Regions from separate parts of the Homo sapiens genome. Here region 2 is linked to region 1. The links are contacts of gene promoters, found by promoter capture Hi-C in blood cells and fetal thymus (Javierre and others, 2016). All regions are on one chromosome and are shown on one strand. The core of a region is centred on a gene start or on the middle of the fragment in contact, and the rest is flanking DNA. Distances in the headings are between cores, read along the strand shown.

What was found. Contacts are between HindIII fragments. The CHiCAGO score rates a contact against its expected background, and 5 or more counts as called.
Region 2: a contact is called between a fragment that was not itself captured here and the fragment with the promoter of ANXA10 in region 1, in 1 of 17 cell types (M0 macrophages). The highest score is 5.1, in M0 macrophages.

The regions. Positions count from the first base shown.
Region 1 is chr4:168,088,627-168,096,282 of GRCh38, reverse strand. It overlaps ANXA10 (annexin A10), which reads right to left and starts at 3,746. Exons shown (of 12, transcript NM_007193.5): 1 at 3,565-3,746. The coding sequence starts at 3,582. LOC124900170 (a long non-coding RNA gene) reads right to left here and starts at 3,546. Exons shown (of 2, transcript XR_007058357.1): 1 at 1-3,546. The HindIII fragment of the contact is 6,758 bases long and covers 3,540-7,656 here.
Region 2 is chr4:166,159,331-166,166,986 of GRCh38, reverse strand. No RefSeq gene overlaps it. Among named protein-coding and RNA genes, the nearest start is that of TLL1, 290 kb to the right of the region's middle. RefSeq lists an enhancer at 856-1,150. The HindIII fragment of the contact is 600 bases long and covers 4,191-4,790 here.

The DNA of each region.
Region 1 (7,656 bases), core at 2,497-4,996:
GTAAGTCATACTGCAGATAAACAATCAAAGTCAGATTTCTTGGATGGAAGTTTTTGTCCTGGGAATTACTTTCTATAGGAAAAGACAGTCTTGAAAATAATCTTGCCTTATCAACAGCCTCTCCTCCCATGAGATGTCTTGTCAGTCTGCAATCACTCCTAGGTAATATGCCCTGAATTCATTTCTGATTTATGGAGTGCTTTTCCTTCACTACATGTAATCCACTGCTAAAAACCAATGCATTTATTTTTATTCTAGTTAGGCTAAAATGCTGTATGTCTCATTGCCCATAGTAGACACTGCCTAACATGCTGTTGCCTGACTTTCGTGCTCTTGAGCTATTCTGAGGCAAACTCATGAGTCAAAGCATCTTTGTAAAGATACCGCTGCTAAGTTTTTCTCATTTAATTGGGGTCACAAAAAATAATCATACCTAGGCATTTTTTTCTCTCAGTGTGGTAGAAATGATTTTGGAGTTACACAGAATCCTCTGTATCTGTCACCTACTGGCTTTTAACTCCTGGGAAAAGTATTTAATTTTTCTGAACCTTAGTATTTTCATCTGGAAAAAGGGGATGATAATACTGTCCTAGAAGTTTGCAAACACAAAAATAATATGTATAAAACATTTGGGTAGAATATCTAGTACCTCCAAAAGAACTTCAAACCTTTGCATGTTAAATGGTATTCTTATAGGACAATTTGCTGTGAAGATTAAATTAAACAAGGTATGGATGATGTATATAGACAGTAAATTATTATAATAATTTCTATATGTTTGTATAATACATAATGCTATTTTAGGTAAGAAATATGATATCAACATGTATCCTACTTTTCATACTGCTATGATTAACATTTTCTGTCAGTCAATAAATATTATAGAAGTAGGAAAAGGTGTCAAAAGGGTAGAAAAGGGAATAGGATTAAAGTTAACTCTAATCCTATTAGAGGTCAAAAGGAAGGGTATCATCTAAGAAATGAATCTATAGTAAATAAGATGCTACTGTATGAACAAGGGGGATCAGCTGATGACAAAACAGGACAAAATCAGCGAACAATTTTTACAAGAAAATTGTATTCTAAAGAGGCAGGTGTATTCTAAAGAGACATTATATATTAATAAAAAGAATTTGAGCTCTAGGGATGTAGAGATACCTGGGTTTAGATCCTGACTTGGGCAAGTACACTGTATAGTAAAATTTCCTCCATTCTAAGAGAGCTATTATAATATTATAATAATATCTTCCTATGATGTGATTTATATCTGACTAATATATCAAAACTCAGGCTTGCAATAATCTCTTAATTAAACCTTGCTTTTGAAAGATGGTCTTACAGTCAAGCACATAAGTAAAATACACTAGTGCACCAAAGATAAATTTCCTTCTTAATGTAACAAGCACACTTAAACTACCTTAATCACTGGGGCCCGCCTAACTCCAGAAATATAGAAAATAATTTTAACATATTATGTATGTTTATCTCCTACAGAAATGTAACCATTTTTCCATGATTCTTGTCTCTTGCTTGAAGTATATTTAAATTTTCTATACTTTGAGAGTAATGAACTACCTATCTCTGTGGTTCTCAAAAATGGTAACCCTTTTATATCAAGTGTATAAGTTCAGATGTTATATATACTGCATCAGGACTGCTAAATAAGGAGGATCTAGGGACATATCTTTAACAAACAACTCAGTCAATTACTACCCACATTATAAAATAAGAAATTACTTGTCAACAGAAGAGCCAGTCTCTTGCTTGAGAACATCCGATTAAAGAGATAAGCTTGGCCTCAAATATTGGCCTTTTTAGCACTAAATTCTGACCACTGGGGTCATATACCTTAAGATAGAAAATTACTTTAAACTATACTGATATTGATTATGTAAAACCATTTTACCATCCAGGCTTGCTGAGATTATACATAAAACATAACATTCATCTCTAAAATAGCTAATCAAAAGTACTTAAAATGGATTCTTAGGTATGCTCAAATCCAAATCTTTAATCTTCAGTTTTCTTTATTTGCTTCAGAAGCATAGCAAATAATTGCATTTAAAAAAAATCTTGTTAGCCTGGTAATGTTTAATAATCCCAGAAATATAATTTAAATATTCTATAAAATATGTTTCTTTTGAAAAATGGGCATATAAATAGTAACATTAGACCACACAATGCATAGAATATAATAGTAATTACTCCCAAATAACTATACTCAAATGAACAGAGAGAGAAAACAATAGGCATTTGCAAATTTAATCATTTACCATGCTGGCCTAATTACTTGATACCTTTTTTTCTCTGTAGTGAAATATAACCACCTTACAATTAATAAAACAATAATGGTAACTTTCAACTGCAAAATGAGATCTTGAAATCTTAAGATGAAATTAAGATTGTTAAACTAACAGTGATGGAAAATAGCTGCCTTTTAAGTCCTAATTCAGTATTTATCTTAAGAAACACAATATATAAGTAAAATTTTCCTGCATTGATTACTTTGTATGAGTAAACAATGTTTTGTGTGCCAAAGTTTAACAAAATAATTATGTTATAATTTTTTTGCATAAAAGTTCCCAGAAAGTTGTTTTTTGTTTTTTGAGATGGAGTCTCGCTCTGTCGCCCAGGCTGGAGTGCAGTGGCGCGATCTCGGCTCACTGCAAGCTCCGCCTCCCGGGTTCACGCCATTCTCTTGCCTCAGTCTCCTGAAAGTTTTTTTATAGTATAGATTTGTAAAGAATCATCATTAACACACATATACTTGTATATAATTTCTAAGACCACAAGGCATAAATTCACATTTGTATATAATTTTCAAGACCATGTGAAATGGAGACCTTTTCATATAAAGCATATTCAGACAACTTAATGTTCATGTTGGCTTTTTAAAAAGTGAATGACTATTAGAGCAGTTGGACTAAAATGATTCAGACAAGGCCAAAAAAAAGACTAAATCTTGTTATACATTGCTTCTATTCAACAGAAAATTATTCAAAAATAAGCTATCTTTTACAGAAAGCATGGATTTAAAATAAAATTAATAGTCAAAATTATTTTAATTTTTTATAGATAGAAGTAAATATCGAGATAAAAAATCTTATGATAACTTCAGTTAGAATTCTGAATCAAATTACATATGAAAGTAACTTGCCTCTGTGGGATAATACGTTGTTTCAAAATTAGCATGGATTTAAGATTTCATAATATTAACTCTGTTTAATAGTTATATTGAAGACCCACTAATTAAATGGATTCTTAGGTATGCTCAAATCCAAATCTTTAATCTTCAGTTTTCTTTATTTGCTTCAGAAGCATAGCAAATAATTGCATTAAAAAAATCTTGTTATCATAGTAATGTTTAATAATCCCAGAAATAAAATTTAAATATTCTATAAATGTTTCTTTCAAAAAATGGGCATAAAATAGTAAGAAAGTAGTAAGAATAAAAACAAATTAGAACAACATTTTCTGTTAAAAACGTCAAAAAACACAAATGAAATTTTATAAATCAAGTTTCAAAAGAGTGAAAAGCTTTACAGAAATAAGCATTATACTCACATAGTCTCCACAAAACATTTTGATGGTAATTGTTAACCTCAGGGATGAAAATATTTGATCGATTGCATAAACTTGTTTCACTGTGAAGCCAGAAAGAATTAAGGTTCACTGTTAAATCAAATGTAAATATGTTCACTGTTCACCTCAGACTCAGGCAAGAAAATGTAAAAGCAAATCTGGATACAGCATGACTTGAGATACTGTATTTATACTTAGTTATCAGTCATAGGTGAGTAGGCAGAATTATTGCACAAAATAAGTAGAACCATTAACCTAATCCCCAGTTGTATGTTGATTTAAGACACATAAAGTAGCCAACTAATGAAAGAAATGTAATCTTTTGAAAAAGCTGATGACTTATGGAAAGCTAAGTTGATTACCCATAAAGTTAATCATTTATTTTCTGCTTAATTGTTGTTAACATGGAAACTCTTTCAGGTGCTCCAGCCCTAGTTTCCTATCTTAAATTGCTAGGTTCTATGTGTATCCATACAATTTTAAAAGAATATTTCAACTACTGTTTATCTGCTCTTATATTAAAAAATAATGTATTTAGGGGCTGGGCCTGGTGGCTCATGCCTCTAATCCCAGCACTTTGGGAGGCTAAGGCAGGCAGATCACTTGAGGTCAGGAATTCGAGACCAGGCTGCCCAACATGGCGAAACCCCGTCTCTACTAAAAATACACAAATTAAAAAAAAATTATTTTAAATATATTTAGAAAAGAATTCATTATCCACCAATAAAAGTCTTTGGAGAAATATATTCACCATCATTTTTGCACTTAATTTTCCTATATTTATATATATGTAATTTTAATATTAACTATTGCATTTTAAGGAAATAAATTTTAGAAAAACCTGTAAAGTTCAATATAGTGTTGGAAACTATCTAGATACATTCATATATGATTCCAAAAATAACAAAATGAATCTGTATTATATTATTTTACTGCTACTTGCTATTTATTGAACAATATAGTGTTCATTTATAAAAATTTTAAAATACTTTGAATAAGAATTAGGAGCAAATAATCCTTTATTGAAAGAACCAAATACTAACAAGACAAGTGTCAACTGATCAGCATCCATAGGTCTAGAACTACCCAAAATAATTCTGATGTTAAAATATGAGTAAAAGCCATGAAGCAGTATGTATTTATGTAATACACACACACACACACACACAAACACAAATATATATATATATAATGAGCAACTATATATATATATTCTTCAGCATTCAATTTATAATATTATCTGATTACCTTACCAGTATACCTGGTACTATGAGAGATATATGGAACCATGCTGCTTGGCTCAAAAACATTAAAATCTAGTAGGTCCTACTATGTATGTGTATGTGTCTGTGTATGAATCAGGGTCTTGTGTTTTTGCTATGTAGACAGCATATAGCAATTATAAAATTGTATAATTTATATTGTATAATTGCTATAATTGTATAATTTATATTGTATAATTGCTATATGTAGACAGCATATAGCAATTATAAAATAATAGATATACTTATTAAAACTATAGGATTCAGAATTAGAAACAAAAGAAGAATTTTCAACTAAAATTGTTTTTTAATTAGAAACAATAGAAGAGTTTTCAACTACAATGATTTTTTATGATTATTTTAGTAAGTTGCAGGTCTTATGGCTTTTATTAGAGACTAAATATGTGAATATGAACAAAATTTGTCAAAATATTTGAGACCAAAATCCTTTCCCTAAGATTATTAGATAATTCAGAGAAAAGAGATTTGATAATATTCCCTAATTTTCTCCCAGATAATAGGTACTTAATGTATAATTTTATTCATCATTATTTTGTGATTTAGCTTTTAAAAAACATGTCCTTAAGGGAAATTATGATATCTGGTATTTGGCTTATAATATTCCATAGAAAAGAGGGTCATGAGACACCTTTTGATACCAGTGTGGCAAAATCTTGAAAACTATTGGGAAAGATGGTAGTTAATTATTTAATATAATTCTATTTTATGTTTATGAAAATTTCCCTGATGAAAATTTTAAAATGTTTGGTTGTAACTTATTTACTCATACTTAAATATCATTTGATTATCTACAACCTGTACAGTAATAAATGTTATCAATAATAAGGATTTTCCTCTATTCTAAACATTGTTTCAAGTCAATATACTTGTATAAATTAATTCTTACAACAACTCTATGAGCTTGGTACTGTTATTGCCCATATTTTATCCACAGCATAGATAGATAGTAGAGAGGAAATGGAATTACTCTGTAGTCAAGAATGTTGCCTAAAATCTCACTCTTGAAGTAGGAGAGTGAAATTTGAACCTAGGCAGTCCAATGACAGAACCTGTAACCTCAATCTCAATGTTACATAGATACTCAAGGAATGAAACAAAGCAACTTAAGAAGAAAATGAAAAGGCATGTTTCTTGATTCAAAGGGATTTACAGTTTAGTAGGTTTTAAAAATTAACAGAATACAAGATGATAAATGGTAAGAGCCATAAGCAAGTTGCAAAAAATATTTTGAACAATTCCTCAAGAGGCAAGTTACTTAGGGAGCAAGTAAATGAAGAATGCTTCACAGATGAATTAGCGTTTGAAATGTGACTTACCACAATGTCCTCTAGTTTCATCCATATTGTTGCACATGGCAGAATTTCCTTCTTTTTAAAGCATGTATATTATTCTATTTTATGTATACTACATTTTCTGTATCCATTTATCCATTGATGGATACTTAGGTTGTTGCCATATCTTTGCTTTTGTAGACAATGCCAGAATGAACATGGGAGTGCAGACATTTCCTTGATATACTGATCTCAATCTTTACGGATATATATCCAGAAGTGAGATTGTGGATCATATGGTAATTCCATGTTTTGTTTTTTGAGGAATCTCCATACTGTTTTTAAAAATGGCTATACTAATTTACATTCCCATGAACAGAACACCAGGTATCCTTTTTCTGCACAACCTCACCAACACTTATCTTTTGTCTTCTTGATAATTGCCATTCTAACATGTGGGAGGTGATATCTCATTGCAGCTTTAATTTTCATATCCCTCATGATTAAAGATGCCGAACATTTTTAAACATATCCTTTGTCTAATAGCATGTTTTATTTTGAGGACTCTCTCTTTGGGTCCTTGGCCCATTTTTAAATCAGGTTGCTTGTTTTCTTGTTATTGAGTTGTTTGAGTCTCTTAGATATTTTTCATATTAGCACCTTAACAGATGTGTGGTTTGCAAATATTTTCTCCCGGTACACGGATTGTTTTGTAACTCTTGATTGTTTTCTTTGCTGTGCAGAAGCATTTTGGTTTGATGCCATCCTATTTGTCTAATTTTGATTTTCTTTTCCATGCTTTTGGGGTCCTATCCAAGAAATAATTGCTGAAGTCAATGACATGGACTTCCCCCTATGTTTTCTTCTAGCAGTTTTAAACAGTTTCAGGTCTTACGTTAAGTCTTTAATCCATTTTCAGTTAATTTTTCTGTAGGGTGTAAGTTAATAGTCCAATTTTATTCTTCTGCATGTGGATATCCTATTTTTCCCAACAACATTTATTGAATAGACTGTCTTTTTATCATTGTGTGTTCTTGACACCTTTGCCAAAAAATCAATTGATCATAAATACTTGGGCTTACTTCTGGGCTTTCTAATTGGTTCCATTGGTCAGTGTGTCTGTTTTAATTCCACTTCCATGCTGTTTTGATTATGATTGATTCATAATACATTTTGATATAAGATAGTGTGATGCCTCCAGCTTTGCTCTTTTTTTTGCTCAAGATTTCTTTGGCTATCTGGGGTCTCTTCTGATTCCATGCAAATTTTAAAATTGTTTTGCCTTTTTCTGTGAAAAATCACATCAGAATTTTGATAGGAATTGTATTAAGTTTGTAGATTGCCTTGAGTGGTATGGCTACTTTAACAGTATTAATCCTTCAGTCCATGAATATAAAATATATTTTCACTTATTTGTGTTGTCTTCAGTTTTTCATCAATGTTTTGTAGTTTTTAATGTACAGATATTTTACCTGCTTGGTTAAATTTACTCCTAAGTATTTTATTTTTTCGTGATACAA
Region 2 (7,656 bases), core at 3,241-5,740, 1.9 Mb after region 1:
ATTACAGGCGTGAGCCACCAAGCCCGGCTCTGCATTGTTCTTCTTAATGGAACTTAACATTTGTGAAATTATATAATATATTTACTTGTATCATTTTTTGTCAGTCTCTGCCTGCTACCTTTAAATGTAATTTCCATGAAGATGATAATATAGTTTTTGTTCAGTAGCCCCAAGGTGTAGAACACCATATAGCATAGAGCATAGAGTAGGTATTCAATAACTATTTGCTGAATGAAATAAAGACTGACTGAATGAATGGGTGCCAAATGAAACTTTCTGAAAGAAGCAAGTGGACGGTAAAAACCCTGAGTAACATGTAGCCCCTAAAGAAGATTTTATATGCTAATATAAATATCTGAGTTTGCCAACTGACAATGACCGTGTGGCTTTAGATACAAAGGTGTTTGGAGGATTTTGTCTCAAGATATTCTGTTGTTGATTTTTTTTCCTGGCAAAAACAAAATGCTTAAATATTGCTTTCTAACAACCTTTTTAAAGATGCATAATTCAAATGAGACAATATAAACAAATTATATATAGTTTTGAAAATATTTGATAGTTTGCCTTCTTGAATGCTATTACTTGTATTATATCTTCTGCTATTCATCCATCAAGATCTCAGAGATGTTTGCAATTTAGCTATATCCAAAAGTGATTAGTGGCAGCTGCATTTTATAAAACCATTATTATTAAAAAGGCCTTGACAAATATAATTTTTTTTCTATTATTTTGATTCTACCTTTAATTTTTTCATAAAAATACTGCTCTTTGCAGAAGAGAAATGATAATGTTTCCTTAAAACAACGTGAACCATATCATAGAAAGCCAGAGAGTATATGGTTCCGACTATTTCAGTAAAAGACTCTGAGCTGAACAATTTTCTGTGTGTACAACGTTGCTGAAAGACCGAGCAGGCTATGACATCATTCACTAAGGGCATTGGTTTGGAAGAAAAAGAGCAATACTGACATCTAGCGTTCATGAGTTATAAGACAGGGAGGGTGTTTTACTTTAAAAACATGCATTCTAACGAAGAGCATGTATCACATTGAGGGAATAGGCAGAGACCCCCTTGTAGACAAGTAAAATAATCAGCGCCAATTCATGACACAACCTCTGAATCATCTAACAAAGTGTTTATATTCTTGAAAAACACAAGAGTTTGAAACAACTGTTTACTGCTGACAAAAAAGCAACTAGATGTCCATAGTCAGTTTATGTGGGCTCAGACTTTTGCACCCACCAAGTGAAGACAACTAGTACTGGGACAATAGAAAGAGAAGCTAAGAACATGGTAGAGATTGTGACATAAGCATTCATTTTAAATCCCTGGAGTGGTAGGCATCCGTGAGATGCCAACTGCTGAAGCTACTGAAGTTAAAATAGTACAACATGTGTTCTCATTGTTCGACTCCCACTTATGAGTGAGAACATGTGGCGTTTGGTTTTCTGTTCCTGTGTTAGTTTGCTGAGAATGATGGCTTCCAGATTCATGCAGGTACCTGCAAAGGACATGAACTCATTCTTTTTTATGTCTGCATAGTATTCCATGGTGTACATGTGCCACATTTTCTTATCCAGTCTATCGTCGATGGGCATTTGGGTTGGTTCCATGTCTTTGCTATTGTGAATAGCGCTGCAGTAAACATACAGAACACATGGACGCAGGGAGGGGAACATCACACACTTGGGCCTGTCGGGTGTTGGGGGCAAGGGGAGAGAGAGCATTAGGACAAATACCTAATACCTATAGGGCTAAAAACCTAGATGACAGGTTGATAGGCGCAGCAAACCACCATGGCACATGTATACCTATGTAACAAGCCTGCGTGTTCTGCACATGTATCCCAAACCTAAAGTAAAATAAAAAAAATAGTACAACAGCCCACAAATGCCAACTCTGAGGACTCATCTACTCACTTCAGCTAGCTGCAAACTCTATTCCCTCAAAGGATCAAATAATTCCACTGCCTTAAAAATAATACTTGCTATGGAAAAGACCTTAAGTGGAAATTTACCCTGCCTTCTAGGCATTATTCCACAGCAGCGCTTTCCTGCATACTCCAGAACTCTTCAATAGGCATTTGAATAACTTCGTCTGCTGTCACTATTCAGGAAAGGCATCAGAAAGAAGCTACTGGCCAGGTTATCGTTTAAATGAGGCCATGAGGAAGCATAGTCTGGATATACAGGGATTTCCATTTCACCCATTTTAAATTTTCCTAGAGACATCTACAGAAAATTAGTATGATTCAAGAACAACGTGTCTACATTTATTTTCTCTGGCTCTGGTTTTATTGAGGTATATACCTGCACTGGATATCATTAAGTGTGCCAGAGGGAAACTCGAGAACCAGAACTCTCCTTTCCTGCCCCCAAAACAGTCCTAAATCCCCATGTTTAGCTCTACTACCTTGGAAAGTTATACAGTCAAGTTTCCACCCTAACTGAGGCAGCTAGAAACAAAATGACAAATGAGAACTATGTACTGAAATCAAATACATACATGAAGTTGCTCTGTAGTAGGGAAAGTTGTATATGTTTTCTTAATCATTGTATTTTATTTACTTCTTCATAATGAACACAGGTAATTCTCAGATCTCACAGACGTTTCTCTTTTTTGAGTTTAGATGTGTCTTCCATGGTTACAATCTGATAATTAAACAGAATAACTATTATATTCTGAATCAGATTACATTTGGAAGGTGATCACCAATTGCTCACAAAAGTTCTATTAAAGAATTCCTCCTGTTTGGCGAGGCACAGAGGGCTCTGAATCAAAAGAACCACCTAACGATAGTCCTTGATGTATAGTGTGTCTCTACAAATATTACCTAATACATTTGCTCCATTTTTTAAAAACAAATATCTGGCACAAATATTGTTGTGAACAGATGCTAATAGTCATTATTTCAGAGACCTTCCCTTGTTATTAAAATATAAACAAACACAATGATGATGTGTTTTTAAGGGAAAGGGACACAAAAATAGGAAACTTTCAAGGGAAGTGAGTAAAAATCATAATTATGACCCTGACAATAGAAGAACAAGATGCTGCTGCTCTACCAATGAAGCCTTGGAAGAAGGTATTTATTGTCTTAATCAAAGACGGAGGTCTATCTAACTTATTCTTTCATAGAATAATGTAATGTAGTGAGGGACAGTATATAAGCACCTGGAACAATCAGCTAAAGATATAAGCAGCCTACTAGGCAAGAGACAGCTTGGGCAGGTCATCCTATACAGCACATTATCTTTTTCTTTTCTCTCTCTCTCTCTTTTATTTTTTTTTGACTTTTACAGGTTCTGTGTTGCCCAGGCTGGTCTTAAACTCCTGGCCTCAAGCAATCCTCCCACCTCAGCCTCGCAAAGTGTTGGGATTACAGCCATGAGCCACTGCACCCAGCCCCTAGCCCACATTTTAGGAGCAAGAAGATGTTGAGAAAATTTCAAAGATAGGGAAATCTCTCTCTCTCTCTCTCTCTTTCTCTCTCTCTCTCACACACACATACACACACATACACACACAAACACACTCCAAGTATAGAGTGCATTTGGCATTTGCAACCACCCCTTTGCAAATGTGTGTTAAGTAAGTTTAAAGTGGGGATGTAGGGAAGTAAATTCTTAAAAGTATGCAAATTGCAAAGGGCATAAAATCTTGAGATTAAAAATACCCAAAATGTTAAAATTAAGGTGAAATATGTTTTTAGGACTCAAGAGAAACATAACTTTAAAAACCTGCACTGAATTTACATTTATGTGCAATTCACAAGCAAACTCAGAGATGTTTTTAAAATGGAGCTTAAGGCAAGAAAAAGACATAGATTGAATTGTGTGTTCTTAAGTACAAAGTGCAAGTTTTCTCTGTAAAAATCCACTGAAACGTCTTTGCCTACCTCATTAAAATGAAACTAACCACAAAACACAAAATGAAGTATAATGGCTAAATCCTATATGCCAAAGTTTCTGTTTTGAAATTTGTGCTATCTGAGTACCTGAGAGCTGACAGAATTAAATAAGAAATTAATGAAGAGCTCAGGCTGAGTCTCCTTATTTATGCTGAACAATGTCTGGTACCTTTTCTGACAAAATTAACTACTTAATAGTATTTGATGACAAATACAAAGAAAATGGGCAATTCTATCTCTAAAGTAATAAATTCAGCAATAAACTTTTTTAAAAAAGCTTAAAGCCTTAAGAAATGAAATTTTATGTTCAAATAATAATGGAAATTGCCTATCGTAATTTTTATGCCTGGAAGTAAGAACAGCTCCACATTTCGTTTTCAATTTTAAATCAGACACCTACCTATTTTTATAACCTCCAGGAATACAAGGTTTTGAAAGAATGATAATATGTTAAGTAACAGCACTCTTACTCTGAGAGCAGCTAAAGGAGCAAGATGTAGATTTCCATGAGGATAGATAGCTTGTCAAGCAAATCCAAATGGTGTGTGAAATATTGCCAGTGATGAATGACATTTAGTGACAAGATCAAAGTTCAGTGCAAGTCATCGATGTCTCTGATAGAGGCCATTTAGTTCACTCAACCCAGGTGTTCGTTAAGTAGATAGGACTTGCAGTTTTCAAAGTCTTTGTTTATAGTACATTCAGATAATTATTTGTGCACATTAGTTAGCATTGATTTTACGTATTTTACTTTCATGTAGTAAATCTGATGGAAGAAAAATCTAAAACAGTGATAGTATACTTAGTATATTCTCATGTGTGAATAATAACTAAGCATTTATTGAATTTTTGCTATGGGATATCATTTTTCCACAAGCTTTGTTCACATAATTTAATTTAATTCTCGCAACAAGCCTAGGAGCTAGTTTTATTAACATTATTTTTATTTTCCTGAGGGCACACTGAAGTACTGAAGATTCAAACAAAATGTTCAAGGTTGTGCAACTAACAAGCCCAGAGGTGGGATTTGAGCATAATCCAGGAGAGCCAGAGCTTGTAACACCTTTGTCACATTGTTCCTTACTTGGAAACAATTTTGTGTAAGCCTAGTGTCCAGTCACTTACTATAAATTGTAAATCATATCAGTGAAACAGAAAAAGGGCAGTGTGTCTGTTTTTTATTCTAGATTTCAAAGAGAGTTGAAGTATAAACTTGGAAAAAAAAAAGTAAGGAAATTTCTTTGGCTTTTATATCGAAAAATTACTGTAAGGAAAAGCTAAATTACTTACATATCTAAGTATATTGTATAACTCTTGTTTCACATCCAACACTTCTACTTGCTAGCCATGGAAAAAGACGGGGCTGGATTTTAATACTGGATCTCAGCAGTAATTATATTGATTTAGTTAATTATACTTCAGTTTTTCATTTATAAAATGGGGATAATAAAACCTACCATGAGGTATTGTTACAGATCTATGCTATAAATGAAAAACACGAAGTATGCTGTGCAGCACATACTACATACCCAACAAATAGTAGTTCTTAATTATGGTGCTGCTGACTTGGTACTCATGGCACTAACAATTTTTTTGAGAACAGTAATATATAATTCTATAATTAGTTCAATCAAAACAGAAATACGCAGTAGAAGAATGAACAGAGTAGACAAAATTAGAAAGTGATAATATTTCAGCCCCTTGAATAAATTAGCATATTCATACAAATGTCATATTTTATACTTATTTGGGTAAAATTAATATAGATGTATATATTTATTAGGTACTTCATCTCACTCTTATTTTGTTCTTTAGTTTTTTTCTTCATTTTACCCTACCATCTTTTATCCCCAAAATTAAATAGAAAAATAGAATCTATATACTTTTAAGACAGTAATATTTGGGGCAATATTTCGACATAATATTTCCTTTGTACATAGACATTTATGTTTTTCAGGATATAATGTATATAATATAGCACTGTAAGTGATTAAGATCCTCAGGCCGTTTTGTTTGATCTTTTATCAAAAAATGAAAAAGAAATCACATGTATAGCAACGTTTTTCATAATCACCAAGAACTAGAAATCATCATTCACCAACAGATGAATGGATAAAAGATGGAAGACTGCTTAGCAATAGAAAGCAATGAACTATTAATAAATGCAACAATATGTAGTCTATCAATCTCAAAGGCATTATGCTGAGTGAAAGAAGCTATGCTCAAAAAGCTACTGTGTGATTTCATTCCTTCTGCAAAAGGCAAAACCATATGGGTGCAAAACAAATCAATGTTTGCCAGATGTTGAACAGAGGAGGAGATCAACTGCAAAGGGACGTGATGAAACTTTTGGGGGGAATGGAACAATATGTTGTTGTGGTTTCCAAGGCTAGCACAAAAATGAAAACATGGAACTCCTTGTTCATACAGCAGAAAAAAATATACGATTAAAGTATTAGGTTGGTGCAAAAGTAATTGCGGTTTTTGTCATTAGGAATAATTAGGGAAAAAATTAGGAAGATGAAATAGATGCATCTTTATAAAGATTCCTAAGTTGTCTCTTTTTTTGGGGATGATCTTAATAATCTTTGATAGCTACCTTATTGTTTGCTATACTAAGTTGTTCCAGTTTCATCTTGTCCATTTCCCGCCTAGGTCTCCAACTCAAATCAGCTATTTCTCCAAGAATTCTTGGTGTCTTTTAACAATAAATAGAATTTAAATTTCACATTTTGCATACCAAGGATCCCATTTACACATCATTTCTAGGTCATTGGAATGGACAGAGTTAGAAAATAACTTAAGAAATCATAGTCTAATTTCCAATTTAAGTCAGCGCTATAACATGCAGAAGTAACAGTAGATATACTATTAACATTTTCTACTACTTAACATTTTCTGTATGGCATTGATAACTTCTTTTTTCACACCAGGGGTCGTTGTTTTTAAGGGCAAAGAAAATGACAGAACTAGAGCATTCCATGTAGACCAATTTGCTTTAAAATGCAATAAATGTAGAACAGCCAGAATAACAATTCTCATGCTAACAAGATTCATTTAGATTAATAAAAATGATTATTTTTGCCCATGCCATCCTTTTTAGCATTTATTCTGTATCCCCATTGTTACATATATTGTTATTATGTCCCATAATCTGTCCCTTTCTCCCTCATTCATTCTTAATTTTGTAAGTAACTACATAGTCAAGCAATGCTAACCACCAGTCGTTTTTTGATGACTCTATTGTCATTATGGTTGTGTGAAGCTCATTTTTTAGTAGATTCCTTTAAAAAATCCCATTAAAATATATTGAGTTACTGCATGTTAAGAGTTACTGCATGTCAATAACACTTTCTTTTTTAGATGAGAGTCAGTTTTGCTGGATATAAAATTGTTTGCTTCCAATTTTTTTCCTTGAGACTCTTAAATATATTACTCCATTTTTTTCTATCATAAAATATTACTGTTGAACAGTCTGATGCTAAATTGCATTTTCCTTATAAATTACATATTCTTTTTACTCAGATACCTTAAGAATCTTTTGGCTTTTTCTTTAAAGTCCAGTAATTTTACTAGATTAAGTGCTGGTATTAGTCTTCCCATTTGCTCTTCTAATATGTTTTGTTAAATCTTTTCCTTTATTTTAGGACGAATTTTGTTTATTATATAATGAACATTTATCGTATTTTGTTGTTCTTATTGTTCTCTTACTTTGGTTTTCTTCCTTAAATATTGACTTTCTCTG